Linked DNA regions of Homo sapiens: all the other regions are linked to region 1. Evidence: promoter capture Hi-C in 16 types of primary human blood cells and fetal thymus (Javierre and others, 2016). All regions are on one chromosome and are shown on one strand. Each heading gives the region's core, a stretch centred on a gene start or on the middle of the fragment in contact. The rest is flanking DNA. Distances are from core to core; before and after follow the strand shown.

Evidence for each region. Contacts are between HindIII fragments. The CHiCAGO score rates a contact against its expected background, and 5 or more counts as called.
Region 2: a contact is called between a fragment that was not itself captured here and the fragment with the promoter of GSK3A in region 1, in 5 of 17 cell types (total B cells, monocytes, activated CD4 T cells and 2 more). The highest score is 8.7, in total B cells.
Region 3: a fragment that was not itself captured here is called in contact with the fragment with the promoter of GSK3A in region 1 in 3 of 17 cell types (neutrophils, naive CD4 T cells and M2 macrophages); the score reaches 8.7 in neutrophils.

The regions. Positions count from the first base shown.
Region 1 is chr19:42,241,209-42,243,908 of GRCh38, reverse strand. It overlaps GSK3A (glycogen synthase kinase 3 alpha), which reads left to right and starts at 1,307. Exons shown (of 11, transcript NM_019884.3): 1 at 1,307-1,726. The coding sequence starts at 1,444. RefSeq lists enhancers at 1-21, 636-685, 22-816, 746-955 and silencers at 1,246-1,455, 1,486-1,765. The HindIII fragment of the contact is 12,371 bases long and covers 1-2,700 here.
Region 2 is chr19:42,090,207-42,092,906 of GRCh38, reverse strand. POU2F2 (POU class 2 homeobox 2) reads left to right here. Exons shown (of 15, transcript NM_001394376.1): 13 at 637-838; 14 at 967-1,040; 15 at 1,316-2,700. The coding sequence ends at 1,650. Among named protein-coding and RNA genes, the nearest start is that of ZNF574, 15 kb to the right of the region's middle. The HindIII fragment of the contact is 4,433 bases long and covers 1-2,700 here.
Region 3 is chr19:42,438,985-42,441,684 of GRCh38, reverse strand. All of the region lies in intron 1 of CXCL17 (C-X-C motif chemokine ligand 17), which reads left to right. All of the region lies in intron 1 of LIPE-AS1 (LIPE antisense RNA 1), which reads right to left. Among named protein-coding and RNA genes, the nearest start is that of CXCL17, 2.6 kb to the left of the region's middle. RefSeq lists a silencer at 1,221-1,310. The HindIII fragment of the contact is 3,145 bases long and covers 1-2,700 here.

The DNA of each region.
Region 1 (2,700 bases), core at 58-2,557:
TTACAGGCGCCCGCCACCACACCCGGCTAATTTTTGTACTTTTAGTAGAGACGGGGGTTTCGCTATGTTGGCCAGGCTGGTCTCGAACTCCTGACCTCGGATGATCCGCCAGCCTCGGCCTCCCAAAGTGCTAGGATTACAGGCGTGAGCTACTGGCGCCCAGCCTGAGCCACAGCGCCAGGCCCAGAAATGACATTTCCGTCTTTTTAATGCTCCATTCAGCTTCCTGGTGCGAACCACATTGCTAGGAAAAGCTAGACTGTATCCGAAGACTAGTTAGTGTTCTGAGAAACCGCCGGGAACTTTGTTTCCCGAATCTTTGCAGAGTTGCGGTTAGAGAGGGGACATTTTTTCTTTCCTGATCTATGGTCACCTGGAACTTAAAGGTGCTTGGATCCATTTTCCAGCAGTCCTTGATCGACCTCGGCTCTTTCTTAAAGAAGGACCTGGGGGCGAGGAAGGAGGCGCTGAAACACTTTTAAGTCTCTCCAGGGAACTGCCGCAGTCTCTAACCTTTCGTTCACACGCCCCTGATGGTGGCCATTGGACTTCGCTTCCCGGCAAGCCTCCGCAGACTGGCCTCACAGAGGGTCAGGTCTGGACTATTCCCCAGCATGCTTGGAGCTCATGGGCGATCCCGCCCCCTCAGTCAATGGGGAGGATACGTCGAACTCCATTTCCCAGAACACACCAGGGCTCGCTGTGGCAACTGCACTGAGGCCTTGGTGCTGACTACACTTCCCGGCAGGGACTGCGGCCCAGCGTACCTGGAAAGAGGAGCGCGTAAACCTACTCCATTTCCTCGCCCATCTCCGGAACTGCAGTATCCACCTGGGGCTTAAAAACCACCTGAGACTCCATTTCCCGGCGTGCTTTAAAAATCGCTTTACACCTGCAATGCGGTGAGGGCGTGGCGACGACTCCATTTCCCGGCTTGCCTCACGGCCCGAGACCCGCAGGTTCACGCGGGCCGACTCAATTTCCCAGAGCGCACCGAGCTCTGGGAGGCATACACAGCTAATAGACTGAGTGAGTGGACTCCGTTTCCCAGCGTGCATCAGGCTCTCTGCTTCCTAAAGTGCTTCAGGGCTCCCCGTCGTACAGTCGGCTGACAGATTACCCTGGACTCCATTTCCCGACGTACAGCGTGACCCGTCATTCCCGCCCATCATTCCCGCGGTCTACTCTGAGGCTTTTGTGGACTTCATTTCCCGGCGTGCCACGCGGCTCTCTGTGCGGGCCGAGGGCGGTGACGGCGGCGCGGACGACAGCCGGACTGCATCTCCCGGCGTGCCCCGCGGCGGGCGCTGGGCCGGAGCCGGAGCCCAAGCCAGAGCGGCGCGGCCTGGAAGAGGCCAGGGCCCGGGGGAGGCGGCGGCAGCGGCGGCGGCTGGGGCAGCCCGGGCAGCCCGAGCCCCGCAGCCTGGGCCTGTGCTCGGCGCCATGAGCGGCGGCGGGCCTTCGGGAGGCGGCCCTGGGGGCTCGGGCAGGGCGCGGACTAGCTCGTTCGCGGAGCCCGGCGGCGGAGGCGGAGGAGGCGGCGGCGGCCCCGGAGGCTCGGCCTCCGGCCCAGGCGGCACCGGCGGCGGAAAGGCATCTGTCGGGGCCATGGGTGGGGGCGTCGGGGCCTCGAGCTCCGGGGGTGGACCCGGCGGCAGCGGCGGAGGAGGCAGCGGAGGCCCCGGCGCAGGCACTAGCTTCCCGCCGCCCGGGGTGAAGCTGGGCCGTGAGTACTAGTGGCGCCCGTGTAGGGTGGTGATTAGGGTTCCCAAAGCTCCTCAGACATCCATCAGATTCTTTCATGTGCTTAGATAGGAGCTCGAGGTCACTGTGCCTCCCCATACCGGGGATCCGAGCCCTCTTCCTCCCAGGAAAAGGAGTCTTGGGGTTACCATCTCTTGGAGATCAGAATTACTCGTGGATCAGAATTACTAACACTTAAAGAAACGGGTTACAAGTCTCTGTTCTTCCATTATTGAGGTCTTGGGTCCTTGAGCCTTAAGAACAGGTATCTGATGTTGCTATTCATTATAATATTGGATCAGAGGTCACAGTCGCTTGCAAATGGGGATCTAGGGTTATTGTCTCCTAAGAGAACAAGAATAAGACCAACCCCGAAAAAGAGGGATCTGCATTCCCTGTCCTTCAGAAGATGGGGATTTGGAGCGAATATCACTTAGAAGCAGGGCTTTGAGGTTACTGTGTTTTGTCCCCAAAGAATAGGGCCAGGCTTTCCAAACCTGGTACTCAGATCATCTTCCCTATTAAAACCAAGACCTGGCATCATTACCCACCCTAAATCTTGTTGAGCTGTACTGCCAATGGTGAGAATTAATAGTTACTGCCTTTTAGATATAAAGACATTGGGAGTCAGCATATCCTTCAAACCAAGTCCATAGTCCATGTTTTAAAATACATGGCTTGGTGTGTCTCCTTTAACAAAAATGGAATGGAGCAGGGTAGGTCACAGTTTCCTACAGAATATGGATCTAAGGTTATACTTTTTTAATAATTGTTCTAAGGTATGGTGTCATTGGCTCTGAAAAAAAAAAGTGATGTAGGGTTATCTCCCTCTGAAAGAACTTGTCACTGGCCCCTCAAAATGGATTTGGTGGCCGGGCGCGGTGGCTCACGCCTGTAATCCCAGCACTTTGGGAGGCTGAGGTGGGCGGATCACCTGCGGTCAGGAGTTCGAGACCA
Region 2 (2,700 bases), core at 24-2,523, 150 kb after region 1:
GCTAGAAAATAGTAAGTGGAGATTTATAAAGTAGTAAGTGCTTGCCTGGCACTGTACTAAACTCTTTCTAAACTGCATTGACTGACTTAATTCTCAAACTCATTTTATGAGATAGGGTCTATTATTATCCCCATTTTCCAGACAAGGGATCTGAAGGTCAGAGAGGTTAAGGCACTCACCCAAGGGCACCACTGGGATGAGACAGAGCCAGGAGTTTCTACCCCAGCAGTCTGGCTGAGTCTGGGCCCTCAGCCCCTGCCAGGTTGCCCATCCCTCAGATGTGGCAGTGTGCCTGGCACCCTTCGCCCCTCCCCAGCCCCTAGAGGGAGCCATAGGGCTTTGTCTCCTGGGCACCCCCGTTTCTAGTCGGTAAAAAAGTGGTTCAGGGCAGGGAGTGTAGAGTGCCAGGGCTCAGCAGGAAGCACCTGCTCTGACTTCCATTGTTATGACAGGGGTCACCATGGCAGAGGCACAGGGAAATGACTCTGGGAAGAGAGGGCAGGGAGGTCTAAGGCTGTTCTGACTGAGGAGATGCTGCGTGAGCTGGGCGGGAGGACAAGTAGGAGCTGACCCCAGGTTCCTCAGTGGGGGACGAGTGGAAGCTGAAGACCCCATCTTTCTGTCTCTCTCTGGCAGTTACTACCTTATCCTCAGCTGTGGGGACGCTCCACCCCAGCCGGACAGCTGGAGGGGGTGGGGGCGGGGGCGGGGCTGCGCCCCCCCTCAATTCCATCCCCTCTGTCACTCCCCCACCCCCGGCCACCACCAACAGCACAAACCCCAGCCCTCAAGGCAGCCACTCGGCTATCGGCTTGTCAGGCCTGAACCCCAGCACGGGGTAAGTGGGTGCACGTGGGAAGCTGTGGGGAGAAGCAGGGTCGCTGCTGCTTCTAGGGTGGGGAGCGGCACCCCAGTTATGTTGGCAGGTCCCTGCCCCTGCTAATGCCTCTGCTTTGCCTCTTGCAGAAGCACAATGGTGGGGTTGAGCTCCGGGCTGAGTCCAGCCCTCATGAGCAACAACCCTTTGGCCACTATCCAAGGTGCGTGCTGCCTCATGTCACACCCATCGTCACCAGCCCTATCCTCTGGGGCCTCGAGCCCTGCCATTGCTGCTCCAGCCATGCCATCCTGCCCCTGCTCACTGCATTGCTTGCCTCTTCATACCCATCTCACCTTTGGGGAAGGTGTGAGGGGTGCTGATGGGGGTCAGTGGGACCGATGGGGAGATGGGGGGCACTCTGGGCAGGATGCTGGAAGGCAAAGGTCTCCCCTGGCCCGGCATGCCCTTAGCCCAGCCTCTCTCTCTCCCCGCCAGCCCTGGCCTCTGGTGGAACCCTGCCCCTTACCAGCCTTGATGGCAGCGGGAATCTGGTGCTGGGGGCAGCCGGTGCAGCCCCGGGGAGCCCTGGCCTGGTGACCTCGCCGCTCTTCTTGAATCATGCTGGGCTGCCCCTGCTCAGCACCCCGCCTGGTGTGGGCCTGGTCTCAGCAGCGGCTGCGGCTGTGGCAGCCTCCATCTCCAGCAAGTCTCCTGGCCTCTCCTCCTCATCCTCTTCATCCTCATCCTCCTCCTCCTCCACTTGCAGCGAGACGGCAGCACAGACCCCTGGAGGTCCAGGGGGGCCCGAGGCAGGGTCCAAACCTGAGTGAGGGCCAGCCATGCCTCCCCTCCCATTCCTCTGGTCCCTGCCTTGGTCCCTTGCCTGGGAAGAGGGCGAGGAGGCCAGTGGTGGGGACGCAGAGGGTCCTCAGAGCAGGAGTGACAAGGGAGGAAAGACCAAAAAAACAACCAACCAAAAAAAAAAAAAAAAAGGAAAGAAACTAACCAACAAAAGAGAAAACCAAAAATAATCACAACAGAAACCAGCTGCCCCAAAGGAACCAGAGGTGAAAAACAAACAAAAAAAAACCAAAAACAAACCAAAAAAAAAAAAAACCCACAAAATCAAACAAACCAAAAAACCAGTCGCGAGCCAGACCTCAGCGTGCTCACCCTCACTGCTACGACGCCAAATAAAAACCCCAGCCAGGGGCGGAGAAGCCTCCAGCAGGTCAGACCTCATGCCACCGAGCCCTGGCTGTGGGACCAACCCCCAACCCTGCCTCCCCCGTGGGGGCTACAGAAGGAAAAAGAGAAGATGCCAGCTTCCTAATCCCAGCCCCCAGCCCTGGGCCAGCGAAGACAGGGCACAGCCTGGGCAGATGGGCTGGGGCTTAGCACCACCCACCAAATGTTCTTTTCCAGAAGGTGAAAGAGAAAGGGCCTGAACAACCTTACACCAAATATTCAGTAGCTTCATCCAAAGGATGTACAGAATTTTTAGCATTGTGCTCAACAGAATGTGTCCCTACCATGTGTCCCCTTCTCCCCTGGCCCCCAGCTCTCCCCACCTGGGCAGGGGGTCTTGCTTTAACCTCCTCCCTCCCCCCAGCAGGGGAGAGTTCAAGGGAAGGCCTGCGGACAACTTTTCATCCCCTGTTCCTCCCTCTTTTCCCCTTTGAAGGGTGGGCTAGGCCATTTTGCCAAGTTCTAGCTCTCACAAGTCCCTCCTCAACCCTGTCACCCTCCTCTGCTCTGGAACTGACTCCCTCCCCAGCCTATGGGAAGGTGGAAATTTCAGGCAAGAGGGGATGAAGACATTCAGTTGAGGGCATTCAGTTGTCTTTTTCCATCCTGTCTGTTTCCCTGAAAAAAAAAAA
Region 3 (2,700 bases), core at 109-2,608, 200 kb before region 1:
ATCAACTTGGTCCTAAAATCAGGAGGCATTCTCCCTTCTCCACCCCAATTTCCAACATCCCCTCCTTTGTAGAGAGAGTGCTCTGGAAGCTGTTAAGCCCCATAGCCCTAGGGCCTAGACCACTGTTCTGAAAGGGAAGACTTTTCCATCACTATGACAGACACCCAGGCTAGAGTCCTCTGCCTGGATTCAAAGCTGTAGCCCCAACCTGCCTTTCTAGTGTACCTCCCTCTACTCACTAAAAATACTATTTCTCCAACCAAACTAACCTGTTTGCCCTTCCCTGAACAGGTATTGTGTTTTTCCACCAGTTCAACTTTGCTCACACACCCAGCTCAAAACCACCTTCCCACAGCTTCCTTCAGTTCCTCCCACAGCCAGACATGTGGTCTCCCTCCTGAGCGCTGGCTTAGCCCTGCTGGACACTCTCTTCTTGCACTTATCATCTGCTGCCTTATATTGAGGGCCTTCATGTGCCTTTCCTGCCCCCACCCCCTGTCCTTCTAGGCTGCAAACTACTTGGTGACACAGACTGGTGCACTGTTTCCATATCCCTCACGCTATCCAGCTCAGTACTCAGCAAACATTAGCTAACTGCAAGAATGCATCCTCAGGTTGCTAAATCAAACCAGGGCTTCATAGCAGCTCTACTGACATTTGGGCTGAACAGTTCCTTGCGGTGGGGGCTGTTCTGTGTATTGTGAGATGTTCAGCAGCATCCGCGTGGCCTCTCTCCCCTACATGCCAATAGCAGCCTCCCCTCTCCCTCATCCAAACCCCTGTTATGGCAGCCAAAAATATCTCTAGACATCGCCAAATGACCCCGGAGGGGGAACCACCCTTGGTCAACAACCACTGCTCTACACCAATACTTCTCTGCATGGCCACACTTTTAGACTCACCTAGACCTTTACACTCAGCTTGGAAGTCAGGGGGACCTAGATCCTGGCTCTGCCACACACTTTGCAACCCTAGACAAGTCGCCTCACTTTTTTGAGTTTCAGTTTTATCATCTTAAAATGAAGAAAATACCACTTGTCACACACACTTGTGAAGATTAAATGATCCGCAGCGTGTCCTAGAAAGGGTTTAATAAATGGACTGAGTAGTTTCTAAGTCGCTCCTAAAGCACGAGGGTGAGGAACTGGGGAAAGCTCCCTGCGCCACCAGGGGGCGCCATCACAAACCACGTCGAGTGGGTGGCGGCCGGGCTCAAATCTTGTTTCCCAGCCAAGCAAAGTTTTGCAGTGCAGGCCTGAGTCTGAGCTACTTAGTGGCTAAAGGAAATAATAGCTCCTCCATCCCCAAAATAAATCTCAGAATAAAGTCTAATCTTATTTTATCTCTTAATCACATACATGCTCAATATGCTTTTCACAGGGTTAAGGGAAATAGAAATAAGTGAGAATATATGAGGTCATTAGGAAATAAATTACTTAAAATAACAGATTATTCATTAATTATAATATTATTTAATTATAAAATTACTTATAATATCAGACACATTAAGAACTCCTATATCACAAGCATTGTTCTAATCACTTCACACTTACTATCTCATTTGTCCTCACAAATCTAATGCATTTCTTACTTTTTCTTACTTTTCATTTTTCAGACTTTGAAAAATATTGTAAAAATAGAGTTCCAGTACAGCCTTCATCCAATTGTTTTCAAACAATATCTTATGTAACCATAATACAATTATCAAAACCAGGAGATTAGCACTGATACCATAATATTAACTAATCTACAAATGTTCAAATCTTGCTAATCATCCCACTCATGTCCTTTTTCTGCTCCAGACTCCAATCTGGGATCCCACTGAATAAAATGTCAGATCTCCTAGGTCTCCTCCAACCTGGGATAGTTTCTCAGTCTTTCCCTCTCTTTCAGGACCTTGACACTTTTGAAGAGTTCTAGCCAGTTGTTTTGTAGAATGCCCCCTGAATATGGGTTTGTCTGATATTTCCGGCTACACATTTTGGGCAAGAATACTTCAGAAGTGATGTATCCTTCTCTGGACATCCCAGCAAGAGCCCCAGGATGTCGATATCTCTCATTACTGATGAGGTTCACTTTAAGCACTTGGTTCAGGTGGTGTCTGCCAGGTTTCTCTACTGTAAAGTTACTATTCATCTTATTGTAATTAATAAGTATCTTGTGGAGAGACACTTTGGAAATATGTAAATAGCCTGTTTCTTCTCATCATACTTTTTTTTTTCTTGTTATTCACCAGTTATGGCATCATCATACTTTTAATATTAACTTTTAGAATCTATGGATGATTGTTTCCTATAAAGAATTATTACTGTGGTGTTGGCCAAATAGTGATTTTCTACTTCCATTGTTCCTTCTACATTTATTTAATCGGAATTCTGCCATAAGAAAGAGTTATTCCTTTTTCTTTTTCTTTTTTTTTTTTTTTTTTTTTGAGATAGAGTCTTGCTCTGTTGCCTAGGCTGGAGTGCAGTGGTGTGATCTTGGCTCACTGCCGCCTCCACCTTCTGGGCTCAAGCGATCCTCCCACCTCAGCCTCCTGAGTAGCTGGGACTACAGGCAGACACCACCACACCCAGCTAATTTTTGTATTTTTAGTAGAGACGGGGTTTTGTCATGTTAGCCAGGCTGGTCTCTAATTCCTGGCCTCAAGTGATCCCCCCACTTTGGCCTCCCAAAGTGCTGGGATTACAGGCGTGAGCC